Regions from separate parts of the Homo sapiens genome. Here all the other regions are linked to region 1. The links are contacts of gene promoters, found by promoter capture Hi-C in blood cells and fetal thymus (Javierre and others, 2016). All regions are on one chromosome and are shown on one strand. The core of a region is centred on a gene start or on the middle of the fragment in contact, and the rest is flanking DNA. Distances in the headings are between cores, read along the strand shown.

Evidence for each region. Contacts are between HindIII fragments. The CHiCAGO score rates a contact against its expected background, and 5 or more counts as called.
Region 2: a fragment that was not itself captured here is called in contact with the fragment with the promoter of MGST1 in region 1 in 2 of 17 cell types (M1 macrophages and M2 macrophages); the score reaches 5.8 in M1 macrophages.
Region 3: a contact is called between a fragment that was not itself captured here and the fragment with the promoter of MGST1 in region 1, in 1 of 17 cell types (monocytes). The highest score is 5.0, in monocytes.

What each region holds. Positions count from the first base shown.
Region 1 is chr12:16,345,722-16,349,471 of GRCh38, reverse strand. MGST1 (microsomal glutathione S-transferase 1) reads right to left here and starts at 1,827. Exons shown (of 4, transcript NM_020300.5): 1 at 1,762-1,827. RefSeq lists enhancers at 1-877, 1,808-2,737. The HindIII fragment of the contact is 2,670 bases long and covers 1-2,499 here.
Region 2 is chr12:16,118,265-16,122,014 of GRCh38, reverse strand. All of the region lies in intron 1 of LOC101928362 (a long non-coding RNA gene), which reads right to left. Among named protein-coding and RNA genes, the nearest start is that of SLC15A5, 160 kb to the left of the region's middle. The HindIII fragment of the contact is 1,092 bases long and covers 1,147-2,238 here.
Region 3 is chr12:16,145,375-16,149,124 of GRCh38, reverse strand. All of the region lies in intron 1 of LOC101928362 (a long non-coding RNA gene), which reads right to left. Among named protein-coding and RNA genes, the nearest start is that of SLC15A5, 130 kb to the left of the region's middle. The HindIII fragment of the contact is 692 bases long and covers 1,242-1,933 here.

The sequences.
Region 1 (3,750 bases), core at 578-3,077:
CTGGGCTACCCACCATCAAGGCTAAGAATTCTCAACAGCTCTGGTCTTCTGGAGGCCTTTCCTTGTCAAATCTCATTCCTGTTTTCTACCCCTCCCCCCAAACCCCCGTACTATCTAGCAGAGAAGAATCTTCACTTCTCAGTTGAGGAACGCCCTTTCCCTTTACAGGCTTTTGGCCAAAATGAGCAAAGTTCTCTTCTCAGGATGAGGTGGCCAGCCTTTCTGCATCAATATTGTGAAACACATGAATAATCTGGGCACGCATCCCCAGGGCCATGACTCTGCAATTTTGTACCTTCTAAAACTAACAAACACTACACATGAGATAAAGAAAAAAGATAATTCGGTGGCCATGTTGCGGATACGTTAATCTGGAACTCTAGATGAATTCTAGCATTTCCTGAAGGCATCGTGGTGGCTGCAGACTCAGCCCACTATGTGGTCTCATGCAAAGTGGGGTTCAGAGCCCAGAGGCTGCAGGTGAAATGCTGGTGCCTCTCGGGAGAGTGGTGGGGTAAGGCCTTTCTCTGTGCTGACCTGACCTCCTTTTCCAATCTCAGGGATTCATAGACACCACTCTAAAACAAAGCGGTAGAAAAATTTTACTCGTCTGCCAGAGAGGGTAATATCCAAATTTGGACTGATTTGCCTTTTTTTTTTTTTTTTTTTTAATTACCAAAGATAATCGCACACATAGCCCTCTTATTTTGGAAACAGCAGAGGACAACAAAGTCCAGTACTATCCTAAGGCCAAGAAAAGCATATGCAAAAGGTAGGTGTAGGCTGGGACTCACAGCAGGCTGGGACCCCAGGAAAACTGGGCTTTAAGGATTGCTCACTGGAGGCCTGGGTGCTATACAGCAATGCTTGCGGGCACCCACTCAGCACTCACTGGGTAAGAAATTAGGGAGAAGAAATAGGGGAATATAAACGTGGAGCTCAGACTGCCACATTTCAAGAGAAGCAGAGAGACTAGAAGATTTACATGCACTCCTCTCTCCTCTGTCCCAAGCCAGCTAGAGCAATATATGACACCTTAATTCCCGAAAAAGAGAGTTCCCTTCTCCTTTTCTCCTTCCACATGGCTTCCTCCTCCAGACTGGGGAAGTGGGGCACAGGTGAGAACCGTCCCAAGGGGCTCACCCTTAGCTCTCTTGTCACTGGCTATAATATCACACAAAAATATTATCATCTAACCCACATCCTCTTGTTTCGATAGCTAGCATTATTAGCAGTAGTATTATTTAGTATTATTTTAAAACTTGCTGATGTTTCTCCTATCAAAGTGAACTCAGAAGAGCAAATCCTGCCTTACAATAGGCATAAAGGCCACTATGCCCATGAAACCTGAGACATCGCAGGCTTTTGCACTCTTGGGGAGAACAGCAGTCGTTCAAACTACAGGCATTTCCTCCATTACTACACGTGCCTTTTCCTCCTTCCCCAGAGTTCAAGGGACCCTTTCAAACAGGAGGTTACTTTGACTTGAAAAGGCTAAGTTTGGAAATCATCACTCAAGCATGAAAAGACTCTCTCGTTTCATTCCTGGAGTTTGAGAAATGGGAAAACTTACCCGCACGGGGACAGAAATACAATTCCCTTTCAAAAGCGATCGATTGAAAAGCTAAGTTTAGCTGCTAAGTGGAGCCAAGCACTTCCAGCTGGCAGAGACCCCCCCAAGTCTTCCATCTGCCACCCACCCTGGCCCTCCCTGCCTGCCACCCTTTGCATGCGGTCCCCTTCTCCCCTCCCAGTACGCACGGTGAGGCCGAGGAGGAGGAAGCAGCAAGCCTGTCCCGCCGCCGGGTCGCGCGCAATGCAGGGACTGTGGCCGCGCGGGCCGGACGCAGGCACCGCCCCTCTCCAGTTAATCTCCTGTTAATTAGCCCTCCCACGTTTAAAGCCCGACCCCAACCTCGCCAAACCCCTCCTCTAAATCACCTGATTTACCCGCCCACAGTAACCATCGCCTGCTGATTCCCTTTGAGCCCTTCTATTTGGCGCCCTTAGAAACTCTGGTTCCTGAAATGCCAACTCCCCTAATCAGTGGGAAGGGGGACAGTAGCCATTGTCTAGGAACTCTGAATTCTCGAACATTTCAGGATCAGCAGAGTTTTGGAAGTTGTTTTTAAAAACTTCGCAGAAAGTTAAAATCTCCAGGGTAGAACTAATTAGCAGGCATTGACAATATTACCTTCCCTTAGACTTCACCTCCCCTGCGCTGGTGGCAAGGCCTCCTTAAAAGGCTGACAATGACAGAATGTAACCCTCAGTAAAGATCACTTACGGTGTTCCAAATTCATGATACCAGACAATTTGCTTTGTCACGATGTCCCCTCCTGTTCAGGGTCCAGAATGAAATTGGAGGCAATTGTACTGGATCAGCTCATTACACAATCAGCTTAGTGTGTTTTTTACAGGGAGGTTTAGAGGAACGTTTACGGAAGCCGTAGATATTTAGCCTACCATCACTATCTAGATTAGGGATACTTCCAAGCTTCCTAGTCCCCATAGTCCCCACAATATTTATGGATCTATCTTTCATGGGTTTATATGAGAAATGTTTAAGGATTTCTGTTTTCAATCTATATTATTTCTCTCCTAGTGCTATATCTCAGACACTCACCACCTGTTGCAAGGTCTACTTCCTTTTTTTGCTCTTAATTTACTCCTTTAGGCTTTAAAGGATATCCCTAGGACTAACTTTCTAGGATGTGATGGACAAGTTCATGTTCTATTAAAGAAAGAAATAACTACCAGTTTGCTCTAGGAACAGAAATTAATCCAAGGAAGGTCTGAGAATGATTTCTATATAAGCATAACAGTAGGAGTTTTGGAAAATCTAGCATCAGAAGGCATCTGTTCTTCACTTTTATGTCTGTATCTTTTCAAAACTCTACTTATTCACCTATCTTTGTAAAGTATACTAGAATCTGTCTGTAACATTAACTGGAATAGGATAGAATTTGAGATGACATAAATCTATTCTGAATTCTCTCCAAAGGAGTTTGGTATTATAAGAATTTAAGACTCTCTTCATTTATTATAAGGTGATACAGGCCAAATCTTATGGATAACATGGCAGAAAAAGGAAGAGGAGAGCTACTGTTTAGATAATTTGGTCTACAGAATGCTAGTTGAATGGTTCTAACATTTTTTTTTTTTTTTTTTTGAGACGGAGTCTGCCTGTGTAGCCCAGGCTGGAGTGCAGTGGCGCGATCTCAGCTCACTGCAAGCTCCGCCTCCCGAGTTCACACCGTTATCCTGCCTCAGCATCCCAAGTAGCTGGGATCACAGGCACCTGCCATCACGCCTGGCTAATTTTTTGTATTTTTAGTAGAGACGGGGTTTCTCTGTGTTAGCCAGGATGGTCTTGATCTCCTGACCTCGTGATCCACCTGCCTCAGCCTCCCAAAGTGTTGGGATTACAGGCGTGAGCCACTGCGTCCAGCTGGTTCTAACATTTTTTTAAAAAAGAAAGTAGCACTTGACTCATCTAATGCTCTAAATATAGAATGTGTTCAAACTATTAATTGATCAATGAATAAATACTGAGTTCCTACTATCACTAAATCACGAACAATTATTGCCTGTTACATACATATATATATGTGTGTGTGTGTTTGTGTGTATCAGGCAATATTATATATATACATACGGATATATATATGACACTGTATTGGGTAGAATATTAGCAGTTGGTTTAATTGAATAAACATTTATTAAATGAATGCAATGTACTTGGTTTGA
Region 2 (3,750 bases), core at 443-2,942, 230 kb after region 1:
GCATTTTGTTATAACAGCCTAAATGGACTAAGACAACCGTGCTGGGGAAGCACTGGTGTGTGTCAGAGGAAGGAGACTGTAGGCAAACGCCTTCATTGTGGTTTCTGTGAGAAGGAAAGGACAAGGCCAGCAAGCAGGCTAAGGACTAGCTACTTTGAAAAAATTCAGCAGGCTGGGAAATAGGGGTAAACTCTGGTTGCCTAATATCCTGACCCTGGGACAATTAGAGCAGGTATAGTGGCCCACAGTGTGAGAGCCCAATCAAGCAGATGCTTGGGGTGCAGACTTAATGGAATGCTCAAGAAGGGGAACTGACCAGCCTCTCGTCAGTGACTCAAAACTAGATCAAGAAAGCATTTTAAAAAACTGTTTCACATGCACATGTATAACTCAGGAATAGGATTTTACAAATTATTTAATAAAGTTGTAATTACTGATTATAACAATTAAGTGGCCAAGAAAGTTTTTCTCAAAAGACAATAAGTGGAGCAGACCATGTACACTCCCAGCAACTTCATCCTCTCTACTTAGCGAAGATTTAATTAATTACCGACCAAAACAATGAAAGGGAAAGTTAGGCTCCCCCTGTACCTCTTCTTGACCTGATTTGGAAACTATTAGGTGTGGAACTGATTTAACTTGATTTAAAAAGGCCTTGAAATGCCTCACAGAAAAGTATATATACTAGGGAATAAATGATAGATGAGGAAATCACAATGAAGGGAAAATGAAGAGATAGAGAGAGATGCATCTCTGTTCTCCAGATAAATAACTATATAAAAGCTCATGTCTTTAGGGATACTATAAGATTTGTTGACATAAGCCACAAATGTGACTCCCTAGTGATCAAATCAAAGAGATAATCATTATTAGTTTCAAGAGTCACAAAATACCTATCAGAAAATAAACACATCTAGTTGTTCAGAAAAAAAAAAAAAAAATCTACCTTCTCTAGAAACTGGAAACCTGAGGAGAATCCATTCTAGATTCTTGGAGCTGAAAACCATCTGTGTAGTGGAAACCACAGCTCACATTTTAGCAGGAGGTTTTCTAGTCCCCATGTTAGCTAACAGATTCTTTTCACCTTAGGATTTCCCTTCATAGCAATGTACTGGAGCCAATGGTACAGTTGTTGTCACCCAAGCTTATTGTCTGTCAGCCTCACCAGACTTCCCAGGTGGGGAGCCAGGCCCGGGAAGGCAGGTGCACGAATGCAATCACTAACTAGCAGAAATACATCTCAACTGCCAACACTGCCTGCAGCACCGGGGAATTCCTCTTGCAATACATGCACCATACCTAACCCTCTCTATCTTCCCCACATTGTGGACACAGAAAATGGTCTCTATATCACTTCTGGATGCTAACAGGCATCTTATCACTGAACAAATGATATTATAGCCCAAAATTAGAAAGGGAGAAATCCTGTTTATCCATTTCAAATCACATATTTGCACTCAATAAAATTAAATGCTTCTATTATCCCAACAGCAATGATCACAAAATAGCAAATTCCGTGGGGGAGGAGAGGTGTGTATTACACTTTCCAAGAAGAAACACATTCTTATAACCAATTAAACTCATTGCAGTTGAATAGTCTAACAATTCGCACCAACACATATTTCAAGTTACCACTTCAGAACAATTTGTTTACAATTATCAGGGTTACAAATGGCCTTCCAAATCAGCTCCTGGGGAGACCTGACAAAGTTTTCTGTCAAGTATATACTGGCTCAGCAGGGCAATTTCCAATCTGTCCCTAGAACTCTACAGGAAGTCAATTTCCAAGTTGCAACAAGTATCTGACCTATACATGCCTGTCATGTGATGTGTGAGCTGTCACTTCCACACTGCAACACCTACTCCACCTACTCTAAGGCTACTTACTGTAACTCTCGTTTCCCCCAGTTGTGAAATTTTTTTAAAGGCACTTATTGATCTCTGATAAATTGGTTAAAAAAATCCCCGCACCCCTCTGCAAAGCATACAAACAAAAAAGCCATCTATTTCTTCAGGCTTGACATTACACAGAATTTTTTTCAGAATGGCTACAATCCTCCCTTTATTTCCACTACGCCTAATTTTTTTGTTTGTTTGTTTCACAACCATTCATATTTGGTGAGTGCTTATTATTGCTGAGTACTGCCTTAAGTGCTTTGTTCCACATGTATTATGTCGTTTTATGACCAGGACAATCCTATGAAGTCATTCCACTGTACAGATAAGGAAACTGAAGCTTGAATGAGCTGAATAATTCATCCAAGGTAACCAAATAAGACAAAGACCCAGTGTTCAAACTCCAGTCTGTCTAAACACAGAACTGACATCTTTAATCATTAAGCACCTTAACAATTATGCTATTACTATTACTTTTATAGATGTATGATTTGATTTGCTGCTTTAATCAAATGTCTGTGTATGCATAAGTATCCACACATGTATACATACTGTATTCCAAGTACATCTTGAATTAAATAAACTTTTGAAGACCCACCAAGGAACTTTGCAAACCTGCTTGTTTTAATTTTTAAAATAAGGTGTATTGGATGTTTCATTTTAAGTTAATATAGACTCATTAGAGAAATTTGAGGATGTGAACAAAAGAAAAAAATCATCCAAATTCTCATGCTCAAAAACTAGTATTTTCTTAACCATAGATTATAATATTTTGGTTAGAAAACATTCTATGGGAATATATATTTTAAATTTTAAAGAACTGATTTTAAAATATTTTTGACATAAAGATTAGCAGACTTAGTAGTCACACAGACATTGGTTCAAATCCCAGCTCTAGCACTTCAAAAGCTATTTGACCTCCTGAGCCAGGGTTTCCTTCTATGTGAAATGAGAATGATAATTATTCCTACCCCACCTGGATGTTGTAAAAATTGAATGAGACAATATATAAGAGAATCTTGGCAAATACTTAGTGTTCAAAAGAAGATGGTGGCAGTGGACATGATATACATACATATTTTATCTCTCTGAATCCCTGCATTAAAGCAGACAAAGTAATCAGATAGCAAACCAAAACTCCATGGCTAACATTTACAATGAAATTAGAGGACTACATTTCTTTACAAACCTCAAATATCAGCCAGTGAGGACAAACCACCAACAGCTGCAAGACCAGAGTGGTATCAGTGTCTGTGCAGAGGAAGGCAGAGAGAATCAAAAACAAAGCACTGTGTGCCCATTTGGAAACAGCTACTGAAACTGGGAGGTTTATCCAATCCAACAATGGGCAGCAGTACAAGGGGGCTGGTGGTGGGAAATGGAGGAATCTTAGGAATCTAACACTTATGAGCCTTCCTCCAGGATGGAGCTCCCTTCCAGGAAAGGGCCTTGCACTGAGGTGAAACTGCTGGAATGGAATCAAAACTGAGCAAATTAGGCCCAATAGAGACAAAGGAAAGAAATGATCCAGACAAAAGTGGAGGAGGAAAACAGAACCAGGAAGTCTTGGAATACAACAGAAGAGGGAACTCTCCAAAGTTAGAAAAGCCAGTTAGAAGAGCCAGGCCTCTAAAATTTTAGAAAACTGATCTCACATAAAAATGAGCAGCAGAAAAGTATTGAAGTCAAGTCCTGTGCAAAGTTATTATAAGATAAAAGAGAATAAGGAGCAGAATAACATCACTATAGATAATAAAAGCACATCAGAAAGACAGGGACAGATCAAAACTGTAACCTATTTCAAAATGAGCTAAAAGACATTAAGAACATGATACAAGATGTAAAAGAACAGCA
Region 3 (3,750 bases), core at 338-2,837, 200 kb after region 1:
TCTTCTCAAACCTCCAGTTCCTCTTTCCTGACCCTCTCTTAGCTGAGGACCCTGCTTCCTATGTGGTTGATAAAGTAGAAGCCATCAGAAAAGAATGTCCACACATTTCCACTGCTGTGTCTATCAACTTACTTGCATCTATACTCATTTTCCCTACCTTCCTTCATGGCAATGGATGAAGCGTGTTCCTATTTAAGATCAAGATCAATGCTCGAATACTAGATTCCATTGCTTAGGGTCATTCCAGTGATTATCACTCCCTCTTACACATTCTTTCTGTACTGGATTATCCCTATGAATATGTAACCTGTTTTAATATCTCTCATATTAAAAGAATCTTTCATGTTCCCATAGTTTCCTTCAAGTTACTACTCCACTTCACTACTTCCCTTTATCTTTAAACTTCTCCAAAATTTGGTCATGTTTGGTCTTTACTTTGTCCAGTCCCATTCTCTCTTCAACTCACTCCATCCAATGTAACAACTCGGTCAAGGTCACCAGTTAGGCTCCACATTGCTGGTTGATTGTCAGTTTCAACTTCATCGAAATACCAATATTTGACCTAGTCTGCCACTTTCGCCTTCCTGAAATACCTTCTTCTCTTGTATTTAGGGAAACTTTATCTCTTAATTCTCCCCCTACCTCCCTGGCTGCCCTGTCAATAGTCTGTATTGGTTTCTCCCAATCTCCTTGGCTTCTAAACACTGGAGTGCACTAAAGCTCAGTTCTTAGAGCTCTTTGCTTTTTTCAGCTTCACTCACTCTCTAGGTGGTATTACAGATGCATGGCTTTAAATACCATCGACACACTGATGGCCCCAGAAATGTATATCTTCAATAATATTCTTGAACTCCAAACTTAAATATCCCCACATGACCTGCTTACTTAGATGTCTAATCAGTTCAAAATCTAACTCTTTATTTTCCCCATCTCAATCCTGCCCTTCCTCTAATTTTCCCTCTCAGTACATGTCCCTACTCAGGTACACAAGCCAAAAATCTTAGAGTCACCTTCTCTCATACCCTCCAATCAATTACTAAATTCTACTAGCTTTCAAAATATATCTGAAATCCAACTCCTTCTCAACACATTTACTACTACTACTCTACAAAGACATGATCATTGCATACCTTGATGATTGAAGCAGCCTCCTAACTAGGGTCCCTACTTTTAGACTGTCTCCCATAACACAGGCTGTTGACTAACACTCTCACTTTTTTCATAATAATACAACTGAAGCTTTGTACAAGGCTGCTTACCTACCCTAGAGCTCCCAGATTCCCTTTCAGTTAGATGTGGCTTTGTTTTCACCATTAAATATGAGCATAACATAAATGTGCCTACTTCTAGACCTACCTCCTTCATAATCTCCTCTTTACAAAATGGACATACCTGAGATATAGTTTTAATCTTGCAAATGAAGACAATACCCCATGAGGTAATAAGAAAATAACACAGAAAGAATCTGAGTCCCTGATTTATTTATATGGAAGAGAGCTACCTATCAACCTGAAATTCAGATGATTATGTAAGCTAGGAAAAATCTTCCATCTTGTTTTAAGCATTGTATTTTATAGTCTCTTTATTTAGCGCTATCTTTAACCTAGTACAGAAAGAACTACCATATATGGAGCGCTACCATTATAACACCTAAAATGTGGCATTGGTTTATCAGAAAGGCAATTGGAGATGAGAAAACCACAAATGCTTGGTATATCCTGGCAAAACGTTTTGTAAACTATCGCATCAAACAATTGGGAAGGGAGATCACATGCCTCCTGAAGTAGCAGGTCTATGAAATGTCTAGAAAGAACAGATCCTTATTGCTTGCAAGTTATAACAAAGAAGTGATGAGCTCAGTTGAGAATTAGCCTGTTAGCAGGCAGAAATGGAAAAGAATAGAAAGGATCAGGGTCTGAAGGCTGAAAAAGCTTTCTGATCACAGAACCCAAACTTTAAGGTTCTTATCTTGACTTCTTATCCAAGTCTATTGTTTCAGAGAGCTGCTAAGGTAGCATATGGGTTGGCAGCAGGGGCAGTGATGGGTAGCAAGGCAGAATTACATAAAACAAATGAAAACACTATGGCTAAAGGAAAACAACCTTGGATTTGGCTACAGCCAAATATGACTGAGAATGAATACAGCAGAAACGTATTATGTTTTTGAGAGTACTAAGAAATGTATTTCCAAAGGAACCAAAGCCTGGTCTGCAAAACACCTGTGACTGAGGTTTAAAACAAACATGGTATCACCAAATTTGCACAAGCAAGAAGCAGGCTGCAAAAGTGACACAGTCCCTAAAGAGGGACACTTTGGATATTTTCCAGGAAGATAATAGAGAGGAAATTCCTTTGAGAAAGCAGAACCAGGGTTAAATCAAGTAAATTCAACTGCCAGATTAGGGCATTTAAGCAATTCCTACACAGCAGGACCCATCACTACATAAACCATTGACTGTTGTTTGTTCATTTGTTTGTTTCCAGTTGAGAGTTTTTAATATGGTTATCCTGTCTCTAGTCCATGATTGTATATAGGGTTTGTTTGTTGCATTGTGAGTTTGCAAACACCTTGTCTTTTAGTTTTTGTATCCTAGGAGTACATCCAGATTTGGTGGAGAAAATTGTTCATCACCCAGAGACTCTGGGCTGTGATCTAAATTCAAAAATTGGTGGGACTTAGGGTTTTCTTTTTTGAAGAGGGATTATATGTATTTTTACATGAAAAGAAAGGTCCACAGATATTTGATGGCCAAAGGATCAGGCTGAAGTAAAAGTAATTAGTTGTCCAATATAATCTGTTCTCCCCTTCTCCCATAGTAATACAATTGGAGCCTGATACATGACTAGCCATCTTTACTGCATTTCCCTGTGTCCCTGCCCCACTCATGTGACAAGGTTCATGACAATGGAGTACGAAACACTACTGAGGCAGACCTTTTAAGAGACTGGGATTGCTCCTTTATATGCATTTTCTTCTTCTCATCAGTCTGGTGCAACACAGGAATATAGCTTTGGCAATGCAGATGATGACAATACTGTAAACTTGATAAACAAGATGGAAAAACCTGAGCCCCTGAATAATTGAATGGAGCAGAATTGTCCACCAGCCTAGAACTTAGATTATTCTATGAGAGAGAAATCAACCTTTATCTTATATATGGGGGTAGCTTTGTTATAGCAGTTTAGTCTGCTAGAGCTGCCATAACAACACATCACACACCGGGTAGCTTCAACAGCAGAAATTTATTTTCTCACTGTTATGGAAGTCAGAAGTCCAAGATCAGGGTGCTGTCAGGTTTGGTTTCTGGCAAGCCTCTCTTTCTGGCTCGCAGACGGCTACACTCTTGCTTTGTCCTCACATGGCCTTTTCTCTGTATCCATGTGTAATCACTCTATAGGTTCATCTTGCCTGCTGCCCAGAAAAGCCGATGAACTGAGAATGGCCAGTTTTTGCAACAGAGGAAGAGTTTAATAAACACAGAGCTACCTAAGCAGAAGGACTGGAGTTATCATTCATATCAGCCTCCCTGAAAATTCGGAGACTAGGGTTTTTTAAGGATAGTTTGTCAGGCAGGGGCTAGAGAGTGGAGAGTGCTGATTGGCTGGGTCAGGGATAAAATCACAGGGAGTCAGAGCTTGTTCTCTTGCACTGAGTCCGCTCCTGGGTGGGAGCAACAAGGCTAGATGAGCCAGTTTACCAATCTGGGTGGTGCCAGCTGGTCCAGCAGAATTCATGGTCTGAAAAATACT